Linked DNA regions of Homo sapiens: all the other regions are linked to region 1. The links are contacts of gene promoters, found by promoter capture Hi-C in blood cells and fetal thymus (Javierre and others, 2016). All regions are on one chromosome and are shown on one strand. Each heading gives the region's core, a stretch centred on a gene start or on the middle of the fragment in contact. The rest is flanking DNA. Distances are from core to core; before and after follow the strand shown. Region 1 holds the start of PIN4 (peptidylprolyl cis/trans isomerase, NIMA-interacting 4). Region 2 overlaps PHKA1 (phosphorylase kinase regulatory subunit alpha 1). Region 3 overlaps HDAC8 (histone deacetylase 8).

Region 1 (4,859 bases), core at 728-3,227:
AAACTTTCTCTTAATCCTCTGTCCTTCTCTATCTACCATCCCATTTCCATGCTTTTCAATTAAAACTTTCCAAGAAGTCCAAATTACCACTTCCCAGTCAGTTCTCTAGTCACGGTAATCTGGCTTCTGTTTCACTGAAACCACTTTTACCCAAGGCCACCTCTAATTTCCAAATCTGCTGTTCTTGATAGACTATACCCTCTCTCTTTAAAACATTCTGGTCTCTCCAGCCTCTGGCCACCATTCTGCACTCCCTCTATCTGTCTGCCTCTTTCTCTGCCTGTCCTAGGATCACATCCTCTGCTCTCTGCTCTTTTCATTCTATAAACTCTCCATGGATAATTGCATACACTCTAATGGGCTCAACTACCATCTATAAGTTAGCGACTCCTAAAACTTACATGTACAGTCTAGACCTCTCCCTCAAACTTTAGACTCAAATATCCAACCACTTCCTGACTACATCTCCACTGAGATGTCCCACAGACACCTCAAAGCCAATCTATCTGAAAGTGAATTCATCAATCTCATCCCCGCTCCTCATGTATCCTTGATGTTACCCTGCAGGACCAGCAACAGGTTAGAAATCCAATCCAGAAAACAGAATGATCGTTGATCCTCCCTCACCACCCCTCCCCAACCCAATAAATCACCAAGTCTTGACTATTTCACATCCTAATATTTACAGAATCTTTTCTCTTTTCTCAGTTCCCACAGCCACTCCCTTAGGTCAGTCCACCATCATCTCTCACCAAGACTACCACAACAATCTCCTTACAGGTCTTTCTGATCCTTAACTGTCCTTCTTAGCAGAATATATAGCACTCTCCATGATCTCGTCTTTGTTTCTGTTTTCATTCTCACCACTTGCCATTCTGCCTTGAGTTTTTGCTCCAGCAACACTACGCTGCACACATCATGCTGTTTCTCACCTCAGTGCTTTTGCTGCTGGACCCCAAGTAAGGAATGCTTTAACCTACCCTCAATGCACATCTTGACCTGCCTAATTCATCTCCAGGAAGTCTTCCGTTCCCTGTTCCCCAGCTAAATGAAGGACTTCCCTCAATTTCTATTATATCCCATACACATCCCTCAACACTACATTTAGTACAGTGCTTTATGATCACTAAGCCTTTATCTTCCTCACTACTTCGGGAGCTCCTTAAGGCCAAAATCTCTTTTTTTTTTTTGAGACAGAGGCTCGCTCTGTCGCCCAGGCTGGAGTGCAGTGGCGCGATCTCGGTTCATTGCAACCTCTGCCTCCCGAGTTCAAGCGATTCTCCTGCCTCAGCCTCCCGAGTAGCTGGGATTACGGGCGCGCACCACCACCACGCCTGGCGAATTTTTGTATTTTTAGTAGAGACGGGGTTTCGCCATGTTGGCCAAGCTGGTCTCGAACTCCTGACCTCGTGATCCATCCTCCCTCGGCCTCCCAAAGTGCTGGGATTATAGGCGTGAGCCACCGCGCCCAGCCTTCTGTCTTATTTGTGTATCCTCAGCGCTTAGCACTCTGCCTGACACATTTCTGTTCAATGGATGAATGATTCCTTCCCCGATGGTGGGCATGTCATTCTGTAAGCATTAAAGTGAACTTTAAGGACCATAACCAATGTGTACTTCCTATTGCTGGCTTTTGATAAGACCCAATTTTAGAGCTCTAATAACCCCTTGAAATAGCAGCCCTAAGTCATCGCCTCCGAGGAACTATCCCCATCAGATTCCATTACCCACTAGGACGGTCCCTGAACCGTAGCCCAATGTATTCCTACAGATGTAATCGATGGCAGCACTGTGGGGCCACTGGCTACCTGCTGCGTCCGTCCCGGACTCCGGAGATGGACTGTCTGTTCCCTCCCTTCGCTCCTCACCCGCCCCCATTCTCCTTGATCGCTCTGGCCGCTCTACCTTTCCCCGCTTTTCCAGAACCACTTTTTCCTTTGGGCGGCATCTTGGAAGCTTGTTGTTGAACGCTGAACCGCTCCAGTTGCCGTACAAGCCCCTTTAGAAGCCCCGCCATGGGCATGTCCTAAACAAATGCCTGAAAGCCGCATCTCAATTGACCGTTCTTATTGCGGCTCCGGAAGCAGGCACAGCTTGGGGCAGACCCCGTCCTTTGGCTCTTGGACCAATGGGGCTGAAGATGTCTGACCAATAAGACGCTTGGGCCGAAACAAAGGCAGAGGGGCGGAGACAAAGGCCGGATTAGGGCGGGAAGCCTGGCCTCTGCGCTTTTTGTGACTTCTTTCACGCACCCTAATTTGCACCAGATCCCCCACTCCCCACACTCTACGCCCGAAGCTCCCCCGTTCCCCTCAACCTGGCTTTTTTCACGCGTGCGCAGTAGGAGCCACGGGGGTGGGTGGCTCTGCAGTCCCTCGGCGCCAGCTCTGGCCAATCCCGCGGGGCCGCCAGACAAAGGGAAGCAGGAGTACTGTGGTGGCGGCCAACTTCCGCTGTCTCCTCCTACACACAGGGCTGCCCTCCCTGGCAGTTTTTCGTTTGTTAATTTTATTCTGCAGTTGTAGCTAATTAGGTTCAAAAGGTAGTTTTTAAAAAAGCCTGTCACCTTTTTGCGTCTTGCAGAGCTCAGTCATGGAGAAACATTGGAAGCAGTCTGAGTGCTCCTCAGTCGGGTACTGCTTAAATAATGTTTTAGCCACACAAGAAGATATTATACAACATTCAAAATAACGATTGTAAGGCTGTGTGTACAGATAGGGGAAATGTTTTTAAGACCAAGATAAAGAATATGATTCCTTGTAAAAGAAGTATATGTAATGTATTGTATGTTATATGAATATAAAGGAGAGGAAAGCTATAGAGCAAGATGTGGCCAGTGGTGCTAGTGCATACAGGTCATCGTGTTTGTTTCTGTGTATTTTCCAAAATTTCCATAATGGTGCAGCATAGTGTAGTAAAAGCATGGATTCTGGAGCCAGATTGCCCAGTTTCAAATCCCTGCTCCACATCTGTCTACTAGCTCCATGACCTTGAGGAAGTTACTTCACCTCTCTTTGGCTCAGTTTCATCATCTGTGAAATGGAGTTGATGATAATAGTACCTACTATTATCCTATCAGGTGTTAAGAGAATTAAACAAGTTCATATCTGTAAAGCACATAAAATGATGGCTTGCTCATATTAATAATGTTTGCCTAAGATAAATGATTTTTGAATTTGTGCCCACACACTTTTTCTCCCCTTACAATCCCTCCCACCATCAATAATTTGTATATGATATGTCAGGGCGTTTCCTCCAGTCCATGAGAGAGCTGTCCTAGCTTGCCACTACCAGCCAGAATATAGAGGTCTTCCAGCTCAGAGTTTAGTTTTTGGATGCAGCCTTGCTGGACCTGGAGATGCTTCATGCTCATACCAGGGAATCAGGTGTTTCTGAGACTGTGCTCATTCCCTACTCAAGACATAACATGGAGCCCTCTTATGTTTGGCTGCTTTAAATTCTGGACACATTTTGGGCACTCCTTGTTTTCGGATTGGGAGTGATCAACTGCGGAGGACACATCTAGTGGTGAGGGGATCATTGCTCTGCCACTTCTGAAGTGGATCCCGCACCTGTACTAATTCTCCAAGTTCGGCTGCGAGATGGAGGGGCGGGGGAGTTGGGATTGGGTGTTGACGATGACAGCGTAGCCTTGTGTTCATCAGGTTATCTATGGCCAAGAGGCCCAAGAGGAACATTTACTTTTGATTTTTCTTTCTTTTTTTTTTTTTTTTATTTTTTATTTTTTATTTTTTTTTTTTATTGATCATTCTTGGGTGTTTCTCGCAGAGGGGGATTTGGCAGGGTCATAGGACAATAGTGGAGGGAAGGTCAGCAGATAAACAAGTGAACAAAGGTCTCTGGTTTTCCTAGGCAGAGGACCCTGCGGCCTTCCGCAGTGTTTGTGTCCCTGGGTACTTAAGATTAGGGAGTGGTGATGACTCTTAACGAGCATGCTGCCTTCAAGCATCTGTTTAACAAAGCACATCTTGCACCGCCCTTAATCCATTTAACCCTGAGTGGACACAGCACATGTTTCAGAGAGCACAGGGTTGGGGATAAGGTCACAGATCAACAGGATCCCAAGGCAGAAGAATTTTTCTTAGTACAGAACAAAATGAAAAGTCTCCCATGTCTACTTCTATCCACACAGACCCGGCAACCATCTGATTTCTCAATTTTTTCCCCACCCTTCCCGCCTTTCTATTCCACAAAACCGCCATTGTCATCATGGCCCATCCCCAATGAGCCGCTGGGCACATCTCCCATACGGGGTCGTGGCCGGGCAGAGGGGCTCCTCACTTCCCAGTAGGGGCGGCCGGGCAGAAGCGCCCCTCACCTCCCGGATGGGGCGGCTGGCCGGGCGGGGGGCTGACCCCCCCACCATCCTCCCGGACGGGGCGGCTGGCCAGGCAGAGGGGCTCCTCACTTCCCAGTAGGGGCGGCCGGGCAGAGGCGCCCCTCACCTCCCGGACGGGGCGGCCGGCCGGGCGGGGGGCTGACCCCCCCACCTCCCTCCCGGACAGGGCGGCTGGCCGACCCCCCCCCCGCCTCCCTCCCGGACGGGGCGGCTGGCCGGGCAGAGGGGCTCCTCACTTCCCAGTAGGGGCGGCTGGGCAGAGGCGCCCCTCACCTCCCGGACGGGGCGGCTGGCCAGGCGGGGGGCTGATCCCCCCACCTCCCTCCCGGACGGGGCGGCTGGCCGGGCGGGGGGCTGACCCCCCCCACCTCCCTCCCGGACGGGGCGGCTGGCCAGGTGGGGGGCTGACCCCCCACCTCCCTCCCGGATGGGGCGGCTGGCCAGGCGGGGGGCTGACCCCCCCACCTCCCTCCCGGACGGGGCGGCTGGCCGGGCGGGG
Region 2 (4,859 bases), core at 788-3,287, 400 kb before region 1:
GCAGAACCAGTGACAATCTTATGAGTATAATGAACACTCAGCCAGGCCTGTCATGATTGGCTTTATTTCTTTCATCATTCATAAAAGTTTGCATGTGTTTTTATTCTCTAGATCTGTTACCAATATAGTTTTCTAACTCCTGTTTGGGGAGCAAGTGTTAATAATAACTTATTCCTAAAGCTTGGTTTTTCTTTTTTGTGATTTTATTGTGTATATGAGTGGTGGGTACTTTGGGACATTATTTCAAATGAGTAAACTCTAAATTGTTAAATATTTATGCTGCTATAAATTAGAATTACCTATTCTACGTGCCTTTTCTTAGGAAAAGAGAGTACTGGATCATGGTTTTCTTCCTTACTTACAGGTTGCTTCACACTGAGTGATAATTTAAAATTGTTTCTATGTAGAATCATTGTCTCTACTGTTGCCCTCTCTGTGTCTGCACACATAATGCCTCTCTCACTTTGGTGAAATATCAAAAAAATGCAAGTACAGCATGCATATTTAAGAATTTCTGAACTAACACTTGAAATCACATTTTATAAAGATTGTTGGTACTCAGAGTTGTATTTGCAGCAGAAAATGCAGAATAACCCAGAAATGGAGCCCGGAGCCCAATTCCAGAGAGGAAGGGAAAGAAGAGACGATGCCTGGACAATGTCTTATACATAGGGAACAGAGAGGGAATCAGAGGTGGCTTAGTTCCCTGAAGACAGCCTTATGCGCTTAATCCCTGCCTTTGAAAAATGGGCCAATACACAACACAGACAATAATTTGAAGCGTCTGTATTCAGCAAAGATAAATACAGCAGTCCAGTCTATAGGTGCTCTACTTAGCATTCTTTTCATGTGCTCCTGGTCTCTGTCTCACTCACCTACTTTCTACTACATCCAACTCAACTCCCTGACACCCTATCCCCCCATCTATTCTTAAACTCTTTCATATATATTTTCACTTCCTAATTCTAGTGTACATATCCCTGTATATCATGGTATCTGTGGGCATATGTCTGTTTCTTATAAAGACACATATTTGTGTGTGTATGTGTGTGTGTGTGTGTGTGTGTGTATAAGCATACATGGGAATTTTTCTGAATGTAAGCAGTTTTGATGTGTCTGTATATCAATCTGTATCTACATTTGATGGACTGAGTAAGAATGTTGCATGTGAGAGAAGGGATGTGACTGTGGACTCAGATTGACACACACAGATTGGTGGAAGAATAGCTTCAGTCCTCTTCCTTCATCCCATATGTAGGTAGCCTTGCTTGACAAATGTTTCTTCTAACTCTCCTTCTTCTGAATTGTGCAGAGACTCTGTTAACTTCCCTTTTTGCACTTAGATAACTTCCTACTTCAACCCCCTCCTTTATCTTGGATTTCTAAAGTTTTTCCCCAATATTGGGAATGGTGAGGGTGGGGATGAGAGACTCTCTGAACAATTCTTGCAGAACCAGTGACAATCTTATGAATATAATGAATAAGTAAGCATATAGTAGGGTGATAGAATACAGATAGTAGAAACAAAGAGAGGACAGCAAACCTTTTCAGCACTTCTCTCAGAGCAAATGGAAACACACAGTAAGTAGCTTTCTGACTACATTATTTTCTGGTCACTTTTAAAGAAAGTTTACAACCTGTTCTGAAACTATTTGTCTTTTCACTGGTTGTAAGTGTACCCCAATCTCAGGGAGTATATCTGTAGTGCCACAGGCAAAAGATCCACTCCTTCCCACACTCATTTGCCTGAACTTACTCGAAGGGCTGCATTTCTCTGAGTTTACGAAATTGTGTCATTATGGTCCCCATACAGTGGTATTTAACTTTTAAAGCAACTTTTAAGAAAACTCGACTTGTTTTTTGTTCATTTTAAGTGTGTGGTACTAAAAAGACATGTTAGACTTTTTTTAAAAAAGCACTTATGTTTTGAAAATAGAATAAATAATAAGAATTTCCAATTAAATCATGTCTGGTGCCAATGTGCAAAACTTCACATGTGTTTTTGTGATTGGAGTTTATTTCATGGCTTTATTCTACATACTCTGCTTAATTATACAGTACAGTCAAAGCTCATTCATTGGGTTGAAGTAGAATAATATTAATATATTAATACATATATAATATATTATACATTTCATAATATGTTAGATAATATATGTAAAGAAATGCAGTTTAATCATTCAAATACATACCCACTCAAACAAGGCTTACTAAATTCAAGCGGGCTTATTGACATCTGTAGGGAACATTTTCTTTTCTTTTCTTTTCTTTTCTTTTCTTTTCTTTTCTTTTCTTTTCTTTTCTTTTCTTTTCTTTTTTTTTTTTTTTAAGACGGAGTCTTGCTCTATCGCCCAGGCTGGAGTGCAGTGGGGTGATCTCGGCTCACTGCAACCGCTGCCTCCCGGATTCAAGCGATTCTCCTGTCTCAGCCTCCCGAGTAGCTGGGATTACAGGCATGCGCCACCACACCCAGCTAATTTTTTTTGTATTTCTAGTAGAGACGGGGTTTCACCATGTTGGCCAGTCTGGTCTCAAACTCCTGATCTCAGGTGATCCGCCTGCCTCAGCCTCCCAAAGTGCTGGGATTACACTCGTGAGCCACCGCGCCTGGCCTGTAGGGAACATTTTCTGATGAATGAGTAAAACATTTTTACTCAGCCTTTCAATTGTGTACAAATGGTGCTTCTTCCCTAATGAAGGGTATTTTAAAACAACTTGTTTTTCTAAATATTAAAAATATTTGGCAGAATCTTGTTTGTTTATACTATTCATTAGCCTTTTCTATAACAGGATTTATCCAGCAAGGATGAACATTGTCTCTACAGTTCCATCCTGGTTAATGAAATTTTACTACATTCTGGGAATCTTACACAACTGGTGGGGCAAAAGTTGTTCTTCACCACAGCTGGCAAAACCTCTGCCATTCCTTTTTCTACTTACCAAGTACCTAGTGTCTGCACTAATGCAGTGGAGATTATTTTCCACATGTAGTCTTCATTTCCTTTTTATTTATTTAATTTTAAAAAAATACAGCCATCAATTTTTATTCTTATATTTGGTAGACATTCATTTCCTTTTTAACTTGAGTAACCTCAGGTGTTGGTTTGTCCAGGGCAGCCCCCATTTATGCCTGTTTTACTGGCATAATTATCAATAGCACTGTGTCACTCTCAAAAAATGTCTCAGTTTGAAAGATATGGTCACCCTATATTTAGCAGATGTGTGATTTCTTTTAAGGCTAAGCCAAAAAACCAAGAACTTATTCTCAAACCACTAGTAGTACTTGTGCAGTAGTGGTATGGGGGTAAGGATGACAGTAGGGGGAAACTCCCTTCCCCACCAAATATAGAAATATTTGGCATAATGGCTCTTAAATAACCAATATTTGAGCACATACCAAATGCCATTGTTATATAGGCACTTAGCGTGAGCCATTTTATCTTCACAATTGCCATGTAAGATAGATACTGCCATCTTACAAGTAAGCTACCTGAGGCACTGAGGGTTTAAGTAAATTGCCCCAAATCAATCATCTAATAAGTGATAGAGCTGGAAGTTGAACCCATGCAGTCTGACGCTAGCGATCACATTCTCAACAATGACACTCTCCAAGGAAAATGACATTAAGGGGGTGGTGTGACAAGGGTCAGTTGAAGACAGTTGAAGTGTCACTGGACAGATAGTGAAATGAGCAGAGAAGACTCTGCTCATTCACTGAAGGGTGGTGCCCTTGTAATGTGTTTGCCTCCCCTTCTGGGGAAAAGCAGGGGAAAGCACCAAAAAAATATGGCACAGCCCAACCTGAACTTACCGGTTCGAATGTTACTTTTAGCAATAATGATTGAGGAAAGTGAGTCAAGTAACTTGCCCTGGGTCACCACCCTAGCAAGCTTTGAAGCCAAGATTCAACCTACTTCCTGTGACCTCAAGTCCTCCAACTGCAAATAAAGTGCATTGAGAAGGGTTTTCTTCCCAGTTTAAGAACCATATGGGTGTTACGAATGTGGAAAATTGAGGTGAGGGACCTGTGGCATGATGTGTGCTCTTTCTTAACCATGAGCAAGCGTCTAGCCGCCCTTTGAGATTAGCTGCAGGAATAGGTTGCCAATTCCAGAGCATTGTGCAACAATTTATCTTTCTCCATAGCTGAATCATCTTGCCACATTGCATGGGGTACTTGGATAGTGTTTCCAGTTTAGAGCCATTCAGCTATTTGTTACTAGATCAGAAAGGACACATGAAACAATACCTTTTCATGTCATCCAAGAAGAGTCCAGAATTTAGGGTATCAGTTGGCCAGTCTATCTCCTGCCCTCTTTCCGCTGCCTATCCCTGAAGGCCCAGAACAAGTCTCATTTCTCCTTATGTTGCCCGTCATCATGATCTCACCTTTCAGTCAACTCCTGTAGCTTCTCCTGTCTATAAACATGTGCAGTTTTCTCTTATCTTAAAAAAATTTCTGGGCTCCGACGTCCCCTCAAGCTGTTAGACTAACTCCTTCCTTTCACAATCACATTTTTTCAAAGAGGAAGCTACACTTAACTGTGTTGGCTTCACTTCTTAAACCCCCACAATCTGGCTTCCTCCCCACCTCCTGTTTTGTTTTGTTCCATAGGGCACCAGTGAATTTCTAATGACAAAAAGGGGTCTTTGACCATTCCTTGTCTTCTTTCTGACATCTTTTTCTCCTCTAAACTCTTACACACAGGCATTTCCAAAAATGACACTCTTCTTCCTAGCTCAGAGGTCTTCACCAGAGTCTGGGGCAGGTTTTGTGACATGATCTGATTTACTTTTTTTTGGAGGTTCACTCTGGTGGCTGCAAAGATAATGGGTTGTAAGGCAGCAAGAATGGAAGC
Region 3 (4,859 bases), core at 1,157-3,656, 360 kb before region 1:
TCATACAAGGCCCCAGCTCGTATTGTTGGGGAATGGACAAGCGTGAAAGTTGCAGTAGATGGGCAGGACAGAGATGAATAGGAAATGTTAATTCCCAACCCTTTAAGAGACTGTCCATCATAGTGTTACCAGTTGACTTACTGAATGTTAAAATGTTTGGGAAATAAAGTTATTAAATTGGAATGATTAGTTAATGCCTTCTCAAGATAGATTCTCAATAAATATTTGTTGAATGAATCAGTGGTAATATCTTGACAGATATCAAATTATCAGGACCGGGAGAGAGAGAAGGTGAGAGGTTCCACGTGGCAGTCAGAGATTACAGTGCTCACAAAGTCAAGCAGTCAGGATGTCAGAGATTCCAGCATATTGAACATTACTAGACTGTGGGCTGTTATATAAGCTTCACATTTTAACAAAAAAAAAAACCACTAGAGGGAGTGCAAGGTTAAATCAAGTATGTTCTCCGCTTAATGAAATTCTATTAACGTCATTCTCGTTTCTATTTATTGATCTATGTTCATCTAAACTGTTTCATCAGGTCAGAGCATTCTGCACCATTTTCTTTCACCAGTCCAGTATCTGACTCATAATAGGTCTTCAATAAATGTTTATAATTTGAATAAAAGAATGAAATAATGAATATTTAGAATCAACAGACTTTTCATCTTGAAATTTGTTTTGCTAATTAACAGTGGTTAGTATTTCCATTAAGAAACCATTCTTCAGAGTTCATAACCTGGCTGATAAAGATAACACTCATGATCCTTAGTCTTAAAGAATCTTTAGGCAAGAGGAGGAAAAGAGTCAGACTTGGAGTTTGTGTGCCTTATTTGTATAAATGATAGTGTCAGACAAGAGTGTATGTTGTAAAGCCAGAGCTAGGAGTCACTAAAGCCCCAGTCAGGCCTCTGCTCCCATATCAGCTCTTTCCTTCTCAGGAGGGGTGGGCAGCTGCTGAAGGATGCGGTTCCTCTGGGCTTGTTTGACCCCACGGGAATCATTAGCTCTGCTTTTGTACATGGGGATTTCACTGCTTGAGAAACCTGCTGTCCACAATGTGCTTGAGAGCTGTAGGGTTGTTCAGGAGAAAGAAAGTTAAACAGACTTTGCTTATTGTCTTAATCATCCATTGTTCTCACTGAAATTCTCTGAAGGGATTTTGGGTGTCTGGATTTGCAGCTTTCTGACCTGGGTTATTGTTGGGGGTGCGGAGCTCTTGTCTAGTTATCATCTGATGGCTGAAGCCTCCAACTGCCCTGGATCCAGGCCCATGAGCTGGGCCCTCATATTAGGAATTTTTCATTAATGGAATCATTTCAAATGGTCTGACAAAATAACCCTTTTTAAAATTTTGATTAACATTTTTTAAGAATGGTTTTAGATTTATAGAAAAATTGAGCAGATAGGCCAGGCACGGTGGCTCATGCCTGTAATCCCAGTACTTTGGGAGGCCGAGGCGGGTGGATCACGAGGTCAAGAGATCGAGACCATCCTGGCCAACATGGTGAAACCCTGTCTCTACTAAAAATACAAAAAAAAAAAAAAATTAGCTGGGCATGGTGGCGCATGCCTGTAGTCCCAGCTACTCGGGAGACTGAGGCAGGAGAATCACTTGAACCCGGGAGGCGGAGGTTGCAGTGAGCGGAGATCGTGCCACTGCACTCCAGCCTGGTGACAGAGTGAGATTCCGTCTCAAAATAAATACATAAATAAATAAATAAATAAATAAAATTGCACAGATAGTGTAGAGTTTCCATAAACCCCACACAGTTTCCTCTATTGTTAACATCTTACATGAGTATGAAACATTGTTACAATTAACCAATATTGATACATGATCACTCATTACAGTCCATAGTTTATTCAGAGTTTATAGTTCCTTAGTGTTTACATAATGTCCTTTTTCTGTCCCCAGATCCCACTAGGACACCACATTGCATTTAGTTGTCTCCTTAGGCTCCTCTTGGCTGTGTCAATTTCTCAGACTTTCTTTAATTTTGATGACCTTCACAGTTTTGAGAAATACTGGTCATAATACTCAGTACTACATTTTTCAGTGTGTTTTATGTATTTTAATGTATTTTTCCATCTATTTAATGGAATCTTTTCAAAAGCCTGAGAAACACAACCCATTTTTATTGCTCTTCTCAACACCTATTTTTATGATATGTCTGAACCGTTCCTGAAGCTAGTCCTTGCTAGAGGAGGGCAAGTGTCTCTAGCATTGGTGAATTTTCTAATACAGTATAGACTCCAGAGTAAGCCTTTCTATTTGTTTTCTGTTGTCACCAAACCCATCCTGATATCTTTTCTCAGGCAACTTTAAATGGAAATTGAAGGTGCAAACTCAAAGTTTGTATCTAAAACTAATTGATCTTTTGCCTTCTTTTTTCTTCTGATGTCTTAACTGTAGTAAGAGTCCTAATTTTTCAGTGTCAGTGTTTAAATATAAGAACCAAGGGACCGAGAGCAGTAGCTCACACCTGTAATCCTGGCACTTTGGGAGGCCGAGGTGGGTGGATCACCTGAGGTCAGGAGTTCGAGACCAGCCTGGCCAACATGGCAAAACCCCGTCTCTACTAAAAATTAAAAAATTAACCAGGTGTGGTGGTGCGCACCTGTAATCCCAGCTACTCGGGAGGTTGATGCACAAGAATCGCTTGAACCCAGGAGGTGGAGGTTGCAGTGAGCCGAGATGGTGCCACTGCACTCCAGCTTGGGTGACAGAGCAAGACTTCATCTCCAAAAAAAAAAAAAAAGAAAAACAAAACCAAGGGCTAAGAGAAAGGAAGTAAGTTGCATAGAGCCACATTATTCCACAGCTTTACCTCAATATGATTTTCTACCCCAACTTGTCTTTAATATAACTGTATTATCACCAAGATAAAACTCATCTTTTTTTCAGCATATTTGCAAATATTTAATCCAACTACCCACTCAGATTCTTATACAACTGATACTACTAAATTTAGTTGGAATGCTAGTAAGCTGCATTCACTTCCTCACTGGTCTTTGCTAGAATTCAGTGGATTTTTCTTCTGATAATCATTAGTTTCAATGCCTTTCATGTACTGTCTTTGGAATTTAGTAAAAATGGCTCTTTAAACTCTTCTGGAAACTAAGGACAAAGGTAAGGCATAAGGGGCAGAGGTAAGGCATAAATTGAGAGGAGCTTAAACCACTAGTCTTGCCTGATGTACTTTAATATAACAGTAATAATAAAGCATATAAAGTGGATCAAGTCAACTGGTAACTATGGACTTTATTCCAGACAACTAACAAATTTTCTTTAAGAGATTATGACAGCCTCCTCTGGGAGGCATCTTGAAGGTCACTAAGCTCTTGTTAATGCCTTGACCAGGAATCCCTATCTGTGGATTTACTATAAGAGGGATATATATCCATAAAGAAGGTACAACAATTAACTTCAGATTTCTGCTTGCCATTCAAGGCTTAATAATAAATAATAGCAGTATTTACTAAAAATTTCTCAAATGCATACTAATTGCAGGAAATGTATAAATAGTTGGAACTCAAGCCATTCACATGAGATAACATTAATTATTGGGTGTAATAGTACAAAATATGAAACTTTTAGAACTGTTCAGGTAAATAAAGGATCTTTCCACCTCATTAGATGGCAACTTTGGAATAGGCTCAACATTGGATACAGGTCACTGAGACTGAATGATTTATCTGTGCCATATACTTGAATACATTTTTGTTTCTGATTAAAGGTTGGTCTTCTTTCAGGTAATATCTGTAGTTAGTTAGCTCAGAAAGTTAGAGTATAGTGCTAATGAGGCCAAAACTATGATTTTAGTCCTTGTACAAACCAGTTAGTTTTCATTTACTCTAATGCTACTACTGGCTGCACCATTTCCCTTGGCCAGCCAGCTCTTCAAAAGCATATTCTAAGTCATAAGGGAGGCCAATCTGGGAGGCGTAGGTTGATAAATCTATCCCAGTTTTGAAGAAACAGCCCAAACCTTCTTTCTCTCTGTGCTGGGTCAATTACATCATTGTCACTGGTTTGGCTCACTATGCTGTTATGAGTACCCTAAAATGCAGAACTATGTCCACTGCCTCCTCTGTTTTATATCCTATTAGCTCAGGAAAGATTTTCATTCCATTGAGCACCAGACTGTGGGGTATATTTTTGGAAGCAAGTGTAGGTGTACCAGAGCCAAAAAAGGTTGGGAACAACTGTAGACAAACTGATCTCACTGTTCCTAGAGCTGCCAACTCTAGGCACAGAGCCCTTAAAGTGGACTATAAATGTCAAGTGGGTAGTTAAAAGAAAACCCATTATGTGGAACTAATTTCTGATTTCCCACAATTAGGTGCATGTATTTTGTGTGCATGTATATTTTATGTGGAGAGAAGCAGATGTGCACGAAGCTTATTTATTTAGCTATATGTATTAAATCACAATTGGGGGCTTAATGAGAGAAAAAATGTGAGTTTCATAATTACAATAGTTAAAACTTTGGATTTTTAATAAATATCTTTAAACTTATCATGATAACATTCCTCTGAAGGAGACAGGTAAGATTAGGGAGTTTTTGGTAAGATGAAAAACTGAAGCAGAGACCTAGGTCTCCTGGTTTCTACCCCGGTTTCTATCATGTAAGTGTCCAAGAGGACTTGCTTGATATAACTATGAAGTCAAATAACAGAAAGATTTCTGTTTTTTCCAGTCTCCTTCTTTGATAGAGGAAATAATGCAGTTATAAACACACCAGCTTGATCTGTAAAAGCCATTGAGTCAGTTCTCACAAGAGAGCTCTGCATTTGACAGCTACATGAACTGGGCCACAGAAGTAGTGAATGGGGTGTTACGAAAAGGAGCCCAC

The links. The method cuts DNA at HindIII sites, captures the fragments that hold promoters and counts their contacts. A CHiCAGO score of 5 or more calls a contact.
Region 2: a contact is called between a fragment that was not itself captured here and the fragment with the promoter of PIN4 in region 1, in 1 of 17 cell types (total B cells). The highest score is 7.3, in total B cells.
Region 3: a fragment that was not itself captured here is called in contact with the fragment with the promoter of PIN4 in region 1 in 2 of 17 cell types (M2 macrophages and endothelial precursors); the score reaches 5.9 in M2 macrophages.

The regions. Positions count from the first base shown.
Region 1 is chrX:72,178,875-72,183,733 of GRCh38, reverse strand. It overlaps PIN4 (peptidylprolyl cis/trans isomerase, NIMA-interacting 4), which reads right to left and starts at 1,977. Exons shown (of 4, transcript NM_006223.4): 1 at 1,906-1,977. The coding sequence starts at 1,948. RefSeq lists an enhancer at 1,718-1,937. The HindIII fragment of the contact is 4,711 bases long and covers 1,959-4,859 here.
Region 2 is chrX:72,575,948-72,580,806 of GRCh38, reverse strand. PHKA1 (phosphorylase kinase regulatory subunit alpha 1) reads left to right here. Exons shown (of 32, transcript NM_002637.4): 32 at 1-1,993. Among named protein-coding and RNA genes, the nearest start is that of HDAC8, 5.5 kb to the right of the region's middle. The HindIII fragment of the contact is 3,710 bases long and covers 183-3,892 here.
Region 3 is chrX:72,536,089-72,540,947 of GRCh38, reverse strand. The region is part of intron 4 of HDAC8 (histone deacetylase 8); the gene reads left to right. Among named protein-coding and RNA genes, the nearest start is that of HDAC8, 34 kb to the left of the region's middle. The HindIII fragment of the contact is 4,001 bases long and covers 406-4,406 here.